Regions from separate parts of the Homo sapiens genome. Here region 2 is linked to region 1. Evidence: promoter capture Hi-C in human tissues and cell types (Jung and others, 2019). All regions are on one chromosome and are shown on one strand. Each heading gives the region's core, a stretch centred on a gene start or on the middle of the fragment in contact. The rest is flanking DNA. Distances are from core to core; before and after follow the strand shown. Region 1 holds the start of UMOD (uromodulin). Region 2 has its middle 27 kb from the start of GP2.

What was found. Contacts are between HindIII fragments. The study calls those that stand out against the background at their distance.
Region 2: a fragment that was not itself captured here is called in contact with the fragment with the promoter of UMOD in region 1 in 6 of the 25 tissues and cell types used here (adrenal gland, bladder, dorsolateral prefrontal cortex and 3 more).

What each region holds. Positions count from the first base shown.
Region 1 is chr16:20,349,589-20,356,584 of GRCh38, reverse strand. UMOD (uromodulin) reads left to right here and starts at 3,870. Exons shown (of 11, transcript NM_003361.4): 1 at 3,870-3,896; 2 at 5,746-5,935. The coding sequence starts at 5,848. The HindIII fragment of the contact is 15,409 bases long and covers 1-6,996 here.
Region 2 is chr16:20,297,184-20,304,179 of GRCh38, reverse strand. No RefSeq gene overlaps it. Among named protein-coding and RNA genes, the nearest start is that of GP2, 27 kb to the left of the region's middle. The HindIII fragment of the contact is 7,623 bases long and covers 335-6,996 here.

The sequences.
Region 1 (6,996 bases), core at 2,621-5,120:
AGAAACCACCTGGGTCTCTCCACTCCTCACCTGTCATGTAAGGCAAAGGCTATTTGTGCTTTCTCATACCTCCAGAGACAGCTCCCATGCCCCTCACCCTGAACCTGGCCTGTCCACAACCAGAGGAAGCAGGGAACAGCCTGCGGCTCTGGAACTCACCTGAGCCGAATTCCCCAACAGGAGCAGGTGTTAGTATTCAGGACACGGTGTAAGGCTCACCTGCCTCGGCCTTGAGGTCATGTGGCTGCCAGTTGAAGGAGGGTTACGGGGGGCTGCCTAGACTAGATCATGTGGCATAGAGCCCCTGACAGGCCACGAGCCAGAGAATGGGTGTGCCACCTCCAGGTCCCCCAGGCGTAACTGGAGCCTCAGGAGGTGTGTGCTCAGAGAGGTAGGTGGGACAGGTAATACCCCTCTTTTGGGGGATCTTCTCCCTTGGCTCATTTTTTGCCGCTTTCTGACACACACCAACCTCTCATTCTAAGTTTTTGTGTTCTGTTTGATCAATTTTTCAAAACTCTCCACCCTTTAGTTTCACTCTTTCCAAAACTACCTAAAACCACTTATCCTTCTAAGACCCTGTCATGGCTGAGCATGGAATGTTCTGTAACCCAAGGAATGCAGGTAAATCTGAGTGAGATTTGAGTTTTAGTCTGGATTTAACACTCGCTAGCTGTGTAATCTTGGGGGAGTTACTCCACCTCTCTGAACTTGTCTTCTTCCCTGTGACGTGGGTTGTTGTGTTTCATTGTTTGAGACAATGGAGGCAAAAGCACTGAGCACAGTGTCTGACCCAAGAGAAGTGCTCAGTGGGTGATTGTTCTCAGCATTATTAAGATCAAGTCTCCTACCCATGTTTGAAAGTTAAGAGAGAAAAGTGTTTCAGGCTGGTTGTGGTGGCTCATGTCTGTAATCCCAGCACTTTGGGAGGCCGAGGCAGGCAGATTACCTGAGGTCAGGAGTTCGAGACCAGCCTGGCCAATGTGTACAAAAAAAACACAAATTAGCCGGGCATGGTGGTATGCACCTGTAATCCCAGCTACTCGGGAGGCTGAGGATTCAAGGATTCAAGAGAATCACTTGAACTTGGGAGGTGGAGGTTGCAGTGAGCCAAGACTGAGCCACTGCACTCCAACCTGGGTGACAGAGCAAGACTCCATTAAAAAAAAAAAAAAGAAGAAGAAAAAGAAAGAAAGAAAGAAGAGTGTTTCAAGAGCGAAGTGCTGAGAGATTAAGGTTCGTTCAAAAACAAATATTTATTGTGCACTGTCCTAGAGGTAAGATAAAGAGAAAAATATTGATTGAATTTGGTAACATGGATGTCTTTGGTGAACTTGATGAGCAACAGAGCAGGAAATTATGGCCACTGACAACTTGTTATACTCACAGATCCCAAGAGAAGGGGACACACCACACTGGGCAGAGGGGCTGAAGGGAGAGGAAGAGCTGCTGGGAAGTACCAGGGTCGGTCAGGAAGCAAAGAGAGCAAGGGAAAAGGCAGGAAAGAGCCTTTATTGTAGTTTCTGCAGGAAGGAATGGGAGAGGCAAGGTAAGCAGATTTAGGATTGGCTTAGTTTGAATAATTTCAGAGACCTCTGGGCCATAGGAGTTGTCTCTAGTTGTCTGGTACCTGGTCCCTTGGGGTGATCTAAAGCAGCAAGTAGTGACCCTAAGTGTAAAAGCCCCAAAAAGGAGGCCAAGGGTTGGGGGTATGTGGTCTGGATTGATTGATTTGCAGTCGGAAAGGCACATTCACAGATAAGTCGTTTTTGATCTCTAGTAATTATTGAGCCCTGGGAGGGGCAGTCCCTCCATGATCAGTAAGGCCCCAAAATGTACAAGCACCAAATACAGAAACTAGAAAGCATGGTGATTACACTTATGAATAGATTCCAACCCAAACTCCCCATTTTCCTGCCCAAGTCTTTGTCAAGAAAACTCCAGAAGCCACCTGGGGTCACTGTCTTTAATCCTTTGAAGACACCCATAATAAGGTTTAGACAAGGCCTCATGAAAAAGGTATAGGATAAAAACGACTAGTTCAGAAAAAAAAAAGTAAATAAATGAAGAGATAACTTCCCTTTTCATCAAAGAATTGCAAAAATGAACAATAATGAGATCGTTTCCACTTATCCTTTTGGCAAAGATGAAAGCAAGTTACCAATGCTCAGAACTGGTGAGTAGTGTTGGTGGGATTGTAAACCAATTTATAATAATTCTCTGGGGTGCTGTTTGGGAAGAGGAGTCAATATTCCTACAGCTGTGCTACCTCTTTGACCCAGAATTTCCACTCCTTGGACATAATCCTGAGGAGATGACAACACCAGTGCCAGTGGTTACCCTACCACTGAGTGGGACAGGATGGAGAAATGTCCTGAAAAGAGCAATTCACAATAGCAAAGACTTGGAACCAACTCAAATGTCCATCAATGATAGACTGGATTAAGAAAATGTGGCACATATACACCGTGGAATACTATGCAGCCATAAAAAATATGAGTTCATGTCCTTTGTAGGGACATGGATGAAGATGGAAACCATCATTCTCAGCAAACTATCGCAAGGACAAAAAACCAAACACCGCATGTTCTCACTCACAGGTGGGAATTGAACAATGAGAGCACTTGGACACAGGAAGGGGAACATCACACCCAGGGGCCTATTGTGGGATGCGGGGAGCGGGGAGGGATAGCATTAGGAGTTATACCTAATGTAAATGACAAGTTAATGGGTGCAGCACATCAACATGGCACATGTATACATATGTAACAAACCTGCACGTTGTGCACTTGTACCCTAAAACTTAAAGTATAAAAAAAAAAAAGATCAATGCAGTGATCATGGTGATATTTTCCTGCTCAGCCCAAGTTCACACATATTTTATTTTTCTCAACATGATGACAGCCACTCTCACACTGACTTTTGGAATGTCATGTATGTTGAACTGGGTCTGAAGACATGGTTTTAACTCAGGCTCTGTCATTTTCTACCTCAGTGATTGCACAACAGCAAAGCAGAATTTTCACTACTTCCATGAATATAATCATTACTATATGACTTTACTTGCATCATCTCCTTTGGTTACTATTACTACTGTGGGAGATGGGTATTCTCATTTTATAGACAAGGAAATTGACCTCTGGACCTCAGGAAGGTTAAGAAATGAGCCCACTGCCACACAATAAACACCAGATAAAGGAGGCAGACTGACTCCAAAGTCAGTCTATTTAAGTGCAAATTTATTTCGCCTCCAAAGGGACCTCCCAGTCATCAGACCTGATTCTTTGTTGTACAGAGTGGGTCAGGTCCAGTGATGTCTGAACTACCTTCTGGTTCTGACTTTCAGCCATTCTCAGCTCCTCTCTTGCTTGTGTCTGGATTCTAAGGCTGATCTCATGAGAATGGGTGTTTCAGAAGGGTGCCCTCTCCAAGACAGGTGCACCTCCCATCTGGGGCAGTGAATATCCCTTTTGTCCTTATGCAGCCTGGCTTCAGATACTGGCTTCTGCCTGGCTCCTTGATCCCACCCTGCCCTTGTCAGTGACCAAGAAGAAGCCCAGCACCTTGGCACTGCTTTCCCAGTTAATTTCTAACTATGGAATCTCTTGCTGTTAGAAGGTGCGAAACAGTGACCTTGTATTTCCGGGCACAGGTGTGACCCCCCAATGTCAATCATTTGGGGTCTCTAGCTATTAGGAAAAAGAACAACAACAACCTCACAGCTTGGACAAGGCAAACATTATGCCAGGAGGAAAAAATATTCCACCCCCAAGAAAACAATATCAAAAAACAGAACTAGAGACTAATTGGAGGAGAGATTGCCAGCCTGGGGCAAATGTGTATATATAAGTATGAGGCACATCATGACCAGACTAACTCTACCTTTCTGGCTTCAGGTAAGGCTATCTGTAGCTGTCTTCTCCTAGCCCAGCTTCTCCCCATCCTATTTGAGGGAGGTAGGAGAGGAAATTAAGACCTTGGACACTGGGGTCAGACCTGGATTTGAGTCATTATTCTGCCAATTATTGGCTTCATGATCTTTAGTAAGTTAGTTTTCCTCTCTTTGATCCTCTCTGTCCTAGTAACAATGACTACTATTTTTTGACTTATTCCATGAATATTAGTTATGCACCTATTATGTGCCAGGTACCAGGGTTACAACAATGAACAACTTGCTATGTGCTGGGCCCTGCTCGACATATGTCATCTTAGTTAATCCCAGTGACAATATGCAGTGTTTTAGGTCGCATCTTATTAGCGGGTCATAAAATCATTCCTTTTGTGGGTTATATCCAGGGACTTCTTTTAATTAAATATAATAGAATATGTCAGTAAGCAATACAAATTTGAGGCAAGCAGTTAGCCTCTTTGTCCCCCTGTTTTCTCATCTGCAAACTAGGATAATACTTATCTCATAGGGTTGTGGTAAGAATTAAATCACTTAATGTAGTAAGGATATCAATTGTCTTATAAAATTTTATGTGTGTGTGCACATACATGCAGAAGCGACTGCACTAGATCATGACATAAAATGTTTTTCTTTCTTTCTGTCTTTTTTTTTTTGGGGGGGGGGGATGGACTCTCTGTCACCCAGGCAGGAGTGCAGTGGCACGATCTCAGCTCACTGCAACCTCTGCCTCCCAGGTTCAAGCAATCCTCCTGTCTCAGCCTCCCGAGTAGCTGGGATTACAGGCGCCCACCACCATGCCCGGCTAATTTTTGTATTTTTATTAGAGATGGGGTTTCACCATGCTGGCCAGGCTGGTCTCAAACTCCTGACCTTGTGATCCACCCCCTCAGTCTCCCAAAGTGTTGGGATTACAGGCATGAGCCACTGCACCTGGCAACATAAAATGTTTTTCTTTTAGTACATCATGGTCACGAAGATCTGGAAAACGTTGCTCTAGGACCCAATGCCTTTGAGCACATGAATGTCTTTGAACTGAGCCTGGCCCATCATAGATATTCAGTTTGTGAAAGCAACAATCTCCATTTCACAGACAAAAACGGAGACTTAGTAAACTGAAATACCCACATCACAGTGTTAGTGATCAGTAAAGCAGGGATTTGAACCTCAGGTGCAGGCTGCAGCTCCTACATACTTAACCAACATGCCACCCTATTTTGCTGCTATAAACACTGGGGTAATACTGGCATCCACCCTGGACTATTTTTCCAATTGGAAGAAATAGTAAGTGACCACTCCAGAAACATTTAAATGCATTGTGAAGGTTAATTACCTCTCAAGTTGCTCGTCTCAAGCCACTTCTTTACGATATGTGAGTTGCATGAAGGAGCAGACTGCCATGTTCATTGTTCTCCATGGTGACTAGCTCCCTGTTTGGCACAATGTAGCTACTCAATAGATGTTTGTTGAATGAATAAGTGATCCAGGCAAATTGAAAGTTTCCAGGCAGAGGATCAGTTAAAATCCAAAGCTGCCTTCAGTAAAGTGGTGAGTCCAGAACACTATTCCATCTGGCTACTTCCTGCTCCAAATGACTGAGTTCTTCAAAATGTGCAATGTGCTGAGAATTGGGGAGCCAAGACTGGGATGTTGGTGAGGTAAGGAGGGGGAGTACAAGGGGTAAAGTCCCAGCAAAACAAGGGCTGCAGTGTTATGCAATTTTTTAGTCCATATAAGTGACACCTCCTGGAGTTGTATACTATACAATCAAAGCACTCCTTCCAGCTGTGGGGAGGAGAGTTAGATCATGCATTTGTCCCATCCATCTCTGTTCACAGGACACCAGACATCAGAGACAGAGAGAAAAATTCAAAGGGCCAACCCGTCTTTCCTTTGGGCAGGTGCTATCTAGACCTGAAGTAGCGGGAAGAGCAGAAAGGATGGGGCAGCCATCTCTGACTTGGATGCTGATGGTGGTGGTGGCCTCTTGGTTCATCACAACTGCAGCCACTGACACCTCAGAAGCAAGTAAGTGAAAAGTGTGTGTGCGTTGTATATGTGTGTATGCACGTGTATGTGTGAATGTGTGGGGGAAGCAATGTAGCACCTGTCAGAGGTGATCTCAATCCTCCTATCGCACTTGAGACTTGCATTGTCTTCATTCTAAGTCCATTTCTTAGACTCAATATGCACAGGACTGACTTAGAAATTTTGCTAAAGTGCATATTCTGGTTCAGCAGATCTGCAGTAGGACCTGAGATGCTGAATTTTTAACAAGCTTCCAGGCGATGCTCATACTGGGGTCCCTGGAGTACACATTGAAAAGCAAGGGGCTAGAACATCTCTAAGGCCTGCAGGCCCTTTATTGGAAGTCAGAAACATACTCTATCACATAGGAGATTTGAACCCATGCAGGAGGATCCAAACACCTTCCCTTTCAACTTTAAGAGGTCATTCCATTGGGTTGAGATTTGCTGTCACCCCACTTTCATTTTCTCCCTGGAGTACGTTGGGGCACGATGAATACTATTGCGGTGTCCTGGTTAAAAGCACATATTTTGTGGTCCTGCCATCTGCGTTTTTATCCTGGTTCTACTTCTTACCAAAGGAGTAAGGGGCTTAATCCCTCTGAACCTCAGTCTCCTCATCTTTAAAATAAGGATACATAAAAAACTGACCTCACGAGGCCCTTGGGAAGTATTCAACAAGATAGTGAGTGAAAAGTGCACATCCTATTGCCTGGCATATAGTAATTGCTTAATAAACAACAGCTTCTTTTTTTTTTTAATGGTTATTTTTATTACGGAGGAACAAAGTACAACTGCCCAGCCAGGTGGAGTTGGAGGACTCCGCAGAGAGGAGGCGACACTGAGCAGGGTCCTGATGAAGATTTCACCAGCCAGGGAAGCAGAAAACATAAAATGTGCAAAGAAAGGGAGGGGCAACAGGTTCACCGTAAATCCTACCAAAGTATAGGAATTCTGCGCATTACTTTTCTGAATGTGGCTATTTTAAAAGAAGACAGCTTGAAAGCAATGCTTAACACAAAAAATGAATGGTGGAGCTGGGCGCGATTGCACGTGCCTGTG
Region 2 (6,996 bases), core at 2,897-5,396, 53 kb after region 1:
CAGCTACTCCGGAGGCTAAGGCAGGAGAATCACTTGAACCCGGGAGGTGAAGGTTGCAGTGAGCTGAGATAGTGCCATTGCACTCCAGCCCGGGTGACAAGAGTGAGACTCTGTCTCAAAAAAAAAAAAATCATACAGAAGAAAACTGCAGCATTCTCATCACCATCATTACTACCATTATTACCATTTTCATGGACTAAGCTGTTTCTCACTTCTCTTTATTTTCCCTCTTACTTCCTAGATGTGGCCAAAAAAAGCCATTTAAAAAAAATCTTTACATCTGCCAGAAATAGGGCTCATGGGAGCACGTGGGAGGGTGTTCCCCTCGCTCAGCACATGGAATAACACTTTATGAATACTTAATACATATAAATCGGCATGCTAAACATTGTAAATTTATCATCTAACTTAATCCCAAGGAAAGAAAAGAACTTTTATCGAGGAATGTGGGCTCTTTCAAATTATTAGGCCCAGAGAAGCATTCAAACGGCAATCACATCTTATTCTCCCTCTTTAGAGCTATGTATTCATCTGTCAAAACTGCCTGCTATTGCCACAAGTAGCTATGAATTAACCTAATAACACCTCACTGGACACAACATCCCACACTCTAAGGCTTAACAATGGGTAGCCAATCACTAATCAATGTTATTTCTGTAAATCAATGAGAATCCGCGGCAGAACTTTGTATCAGTCCAATCCTTGTCCCCCTCCTTTTTTGCCTTTAAAAATCTGCCTGTAATAAAGGCCAAGTGGAGCTCATATCCAAGGTGACTGATGTCTGAATCTTCCTTATCCTGGCTCAAATAAACTCTTTACGTCATATACTTTGCTTCAGCCTCTCCCTTTGATATTGGGGCTGTTATTCCATTTTACAGAGGAAGAAACATGCTCAGAGAGGTTTAAGGAACTCCTTGACACCATACAGATAACACCTGCCTGCCATTTATTTAGTGCCTACAGATGAGTCAGCACTTCAAATCACAGATAAGGAAGGAAGAGACAAACATTAGGGAACTTGCTCTAGGTTGCACAGTTAGGAAGTGACAGAATGCAAGATTCAAACTTGGATTCGCTTAAATGTAATACAGGTGCTCTTTCTGCCTCCCTGCCTGACGCTTGATGCTGGGCAATGACAAATATAAAATCTACCTCAGGCTGGGTGCGGTGGCTCACATCTGTAATCCCAGCACTTTGGGAGGCCAAGGAGGGTGGACAGCTTGAGGTCAGGAGCTCGAGACCAGCCTGGCCAATATGGTAAAACCCCGTCTGTACTAAAATACAAAAATTAGCCAGGCAAGGTGGCAGGCACCTGTAATCTCGGCTAGTATAGAGAGGCTGAGGCAGGAGAATTGCTTGAACCCAGGAGGTGGAGGTTGCAGTGAGCTGAGATCGCGCCACTGCATTCCACCCTGGGCGACAGAGTAAGACTCTGCCTCAGAAAAAAAAAAAAGAAAGAAAAAAGAAAAACAACAATAAAAAAAACTACCTCAGAACTGTGGCAAGATGTTTGTGTACATATGTGTGCCTGTGCATGACAGCATACAAACGTGCATAGTGTGTATGTGTGTATGCATGTGTGCATGAGTGTGCACATGTGCCTGTGTGTACATATGTGCCCATATGTGCACATCTTTGTGTATGCATGTGCTGACAGCTGCTAGTTAACGCAGGCAAGGGTAAATGATACTGCATCCATTCTTCCTGAGAAATTGTTAAGGTCCTTTTATCTTCAGCAAGAACTCAGAAGAGTCACTGGACCTGGGACACACAGAGGAGCTTTACAGATGATCTAATTCAACTCCCTCTTTGTGTCCACGAGGAAACTGACACTCAGAGTGCACTGAACCAGGAATCAAGAAATTCATATTTCAGCCTGACTTCTGCTGATGTGAGCAGTTCAAGAACTGCACTTAACTTCCCTCAGGTCATCTGTAAATTAAGATAATGATACCTCCTCTGTTATACTTGACGACCTGTGACTTCGCTGTTGACAAGGTATGGATGTCAAACCTTCTGGCCCTAAAACCGCCCTCTTTTACCCAGCCTGAGGCAGTCTCAAGACAAATCCCCACTGCTAAACTTGGCCTCAGAACCCTCCAGCAAATTCAGAACCTGGGAGAGTGCCTCTCTGGTACTGAAATGCTAAGCAGGAAGCTGATTCAGACTCTGAGATGCCTTGGGAGTGAAAACTTTCCCTTCCTTGATTCTTTCTGGCTCTTTCTAAAGAGCCCAGTGAGCCAGCTCCTTGTCCAGTCATTCTCCACTCTTCAAGGACTCCGAGGAACTGGCCTATCTTGTCAAGAGTTACCCTCTACTTGGAGCTCCTCAGGCGGAAAAGTAGCACTTAGAATCTTGGTCTCAAAATATTCCTGTCTGTGTTGCTCCTACTGGTGGTGACAGTAAATGAGACTGTGATGAACAAGTGGATGTGACCTGGTAACCACATAATGCTTTTACTATATTTTATTGGCATATAATATACAGATCATGCACATACATCACAAGTACAGCTTGATGAATTTTAACAAAATGAACGCTCCTGTGTAACCATCACCCCGTTCATGAAATACAACAGTGGCTGCTCCCAGAAGCCCCCTCTTGCCCCTCCAGTTCCTACATCTCCCAAAGGCAACCGCTATCCTGACTTCTAGCACCATACGGTGGTTTTGAACTTTATATAAAAGGAATATATATCATTTGAACTCAGTTTCTTACTAACATGTGCAACATTCTCTTTGTGAACCTGATCCATATTGTTGAGTTTAATTATACTTGGATCTCATTCTGATTGCTGACATGATTCTATTGGAAGAATAAAGCCTAATTTATTGATCCATTCTACTGTTGATGGACATGTGGGCTATTTCCAGCTTTCAGCTACTGGTAAGCATGCTGCTTTCTTATTTATGCCTTTTTGGTGAGCGCATAAGCTCATCTTCCTGAAGTGTATATATTCAGCTTTGGTAAATACTGCTAAGCAGTTTTACAAAGTGATTGTAACTCCACCAGTCATCATGGTTTTCACATTCCAAGATTCTTTAGCCTCCAGTATCTAGTAACAATTGACTCTACTTCCTTTGGTTCCAAACACACCCTTGTCTTTTTCTCCTCCAGGACCTTTGCACATGCTATTCTCTTGGCTGTTACAGTCTTTCCAGCTGATCTTCACATGGGCAAGTCCTCACTCTTTGGGTCTCCGTGTACACGTTACTACCCTCAGGACGGCCCTGTGCCTGTTATACTCATGACTTTATGCACAGTATCAAGCCCATGTTCAGTAAATGGTTAGCCCTAAACAAATGTTAGCTAATACTGCTGTTGTTGCAATAAATAGTCTTTAAGTCTCCCTTTCCAAAATTCTGTGACTCTAGGAAGTCAGACTGCCTAACTCTTATCCTGTGTGCGGATCCTGATGTGCCCCAAGGGTTCTAAATCCCTCACAGAAGAAGGGCAGCTGGCAGTTCCCATTTCTCCCGGTCCCCGGAGCTGCATGTGTGGTACCTGCTCTCTACTAAACAGCCAATAGAGGGCACTGTGGGAACACGTCCGCGGAAGGAGGGAGGCGTTGGTCAGAGTTCAGATGACACAGAATTAGAGCTGGAAGGGATCTGAAAAACCCATCTAGACCGAAACCTTCATTTTACAGATGAACAAACAGATGCCCAGACAGGAGATGTGACTTGCCCAAGGTCACACAGCTACTGCGTGGAGAGCGGAGATGACACTTACCCTCTTGGCATTCTCCACTCTGCGGGGGCGTTGCCAAGCACTGAATGAGGCAGCTGGCCCCAGGTGCTGAAGCTTTGAGCCGGCCAAGGCCCCTGTTTGCCAAGCCTATCACTGCCCTCAGTTTTCTCCTCCCTCCTATTCCATGAGAGAAAGGCTCTAGATGTTGGAAGTAGGACAAAACACACACTATCCCTTTGATTTTACAATTATCTTTGAGAAAGCATTTCACTTTCCTTAATAATGACTACCAATTATTGGAACTTTCTAGGTGCCAAATATCATACTGCATGCACTACATGCATTACCAAGAATGGTTTTAGGGTTTATTACCTCCCTTCTGGGAGTCTTTCCCTGATCTCCCGATTGAAAAAGATTGCTCTTCTCCCATTTCCTCTCTATCACACCAGCCAGTTTACTTTCTTCGCAGATCTTATAATTATTTTTATAATCGTTAGACTTACTTACTCATCTACTTATCTATCATCTGTTTCAATTCCTCCCCTCCTTCTGGTAGACTTGAACTCCATGAAAGAAGGATTCTGGAGCTAGATAGGTCTGGGTTCAAATCCCAGCTCATTCACTTACTAGCATTGTGGACTTGCATTCATTACTGAAACTCTCTGAGGCTGTTTCTCCCTTTGTAAAATGGGGACTCGTGCTTGGCCAAAGTTCTTGATTCCTTTGGGCCTCAGTTACCAAATCTAAGGGAGGATAATAACCCTTCATCTGCTGGAGAGAAGAGCCTCACAAGATGCTCTGAAGGTCTTGGAGCCGTGGTCAAAGGAGTACATAATGGCGTTGCCCAGCTGTGGGGCCATGACTGGGCACATGGTTTACAGATGCAAGTGGAACAGAAAGAAGAGAAAATTGGAAGATTTGAATCTAGGAGGCAAGGTTCCACTGTCCACACCGTTAACCATTATATTATGTGCCTTTTCAACCCTAGCTGCATCTATCCTGTCAGTTTCTCAGGTCCACTAACAATGAACCAGTTACTGAACTTAGGCTTCAGCCATCTTATTCCAGGGTTTCTCAAGCTCAATGCTATTTACCATTTTAGAGTTGAAGCAGCTAAGGCTCAGAGAGGTTAAGTTGTTTGCATACAGCTGAAAAGAGTTTGAACTTGTTCCTCTATGGTTTGTTTCATGCCTGGAGCAGTCAATCTTGCTCTCACCAACAGCTGCCAGAATCCAGCCAATAAATCAATGAGATGCCAACAAGGAATCTTCAAACTCATGCTGAGGACACCATAGAATAGATTCATGGGATAATTCCATCCATTCTGGATGTGTCTACATCCTAGCATCTCCCAAGATTTTTTTGTTTAACCCCAAGCTAAATTCCAAGGCTGTTACTTCCCCTTGTCTTGCTGTTGCCCTAAAATGTGTTTATTTCCCTGTGACCCAGAAAAGTCCTCACTCTTGGCAGCCAGAGCGGTGAATCACATGGTGGCTTTTCACCTGCCATTGGCACTAGGCAAACAGTTCACCACTGCTAAGAATCTCTTCCCACCCTTCTTAGAGCTTACTGCTGTTAGGACCTGCACTCAACCATGATGGTTTGTTTATGTGTGTCTCTCTACCTTTCTAACTGGTAAACTCCTTGAGAAAATGAACCATCTTATTCACCCAACACATGTAGTGGAGAAGCTGGCAGTTAAAGATGCTTTATGAATGTTTGTTGAATGGGTAGGTGGATGATGGTTGGATGGATGGATGAAAGGATGAATGGGTAGATGGATAGATGGATAGGTGAATGGTTGAATGAATGAATGGGTAGATTGACGGATGAATAGATGGATGGATGGATGGATGGACAGATGGACAGATGGACGGACAGACGGATGGATGGATGGATGGATGGATGGATGGATGGATGGATGGACGGATGGATGGACAGATGGACGGACAGATGGATGGATGGATGGATGGATAGGTGGATGGTTCAATGGATGGATGAGTGGGTGGATGGATGGATGGGTGGATGGGTGAAAAGATAAATGGATGAAAAGATGGATGGGTGGATGAATAGGTTGATGGATGAGTGAATGGATGGGTGAAACCCATACAACTCTCAATGTGACCACTGCTCACTACCACCCCCATCCAAACCTGTTCAGGTCCTATTCAGCATCTAGAGAAATCTTTGTGAAGATGCACATCTCATCATGTCACCCTTGCCCCCACCTCTGCCTGAAACACGCCAATGCCTTCCCACTACCCTTAGAATAAAATCAAATTTCCCTCCCAGAGCTTACATGGCCCTGCAAGCTGTGGTATCCACTGACTACTCCAGCCTCATTACATATCAGCCTCCCCCTCACTGATGATGTCTGGACACCCTGGCCATCCTTCATTTCCTAGAATGAGCCCAGCTCTTTCCTGCCTCAGGGCCTGTGTCTGAACTTGCTGTTCTCTCTGCCTAGAGTGCACTTTCTCTGACTCTTTGCATGTCTGACCCCTCCTTCAGGTGTCAGCTTCAAAATAAATTCTTGGGAAAATCTTCTTTTCCACCCCACCTAAATTACACCCCCCAACATACATTTTCTTTATAACGCTTGTGTAGTACATCAACATTCATTATAGCACTTTGTTGAACATTTGCATCATTATTTGTTTATATCTGTCTTACCTACTAAACTGCTAAGAGGACAGGGAGAGCAGGGACAATGTCTGCTTAAACTCACAGCTGTATCCTTAGTACTTATCAGGTAGTAGTACTCAGAAATATTTTTAACAGGGGCCTGGTGCGGTGGCTCATGCCTATATTCCCAGCACTTTGGGAGGTGGAGGCAGGTGGATCACCTGAAGTCAGGAGTTTGAGACCAGCCTGGCCAACATGGTGAAACCCTGTCTCTACTAAAAATACAAAAAAAAAATAGCCAGGCGTGGTAGTGGGCGCCTGTAATCCCAGCTACCCACAAGCTGAGACAAGAGAATCGCTTGAACCCAGGAGGCAGAAGTTGCAGTGAGCCGAGATCATGCCATTGCCCTCCAGCTTGGGCAACAAAAGTGAAACTCCATCTCAAAAAAAATGTATTTTTAACAGGTAGATGGATGAATAGACAGACAAGTACAGGATATGTTCTGACATCTCATCAGGCTGAGCACACTAGGGGTACTGCATGAGGACAATACCCAGGTTGTTTTCCTTTCCACTGAGCATCACTGATAAACATATTTAGGGACAGAACCATGGAATCGAACTGCCTTATAGTTGGATAGGATCTCTTTGATCATTAAGACCAACTTTATTTTACATTGG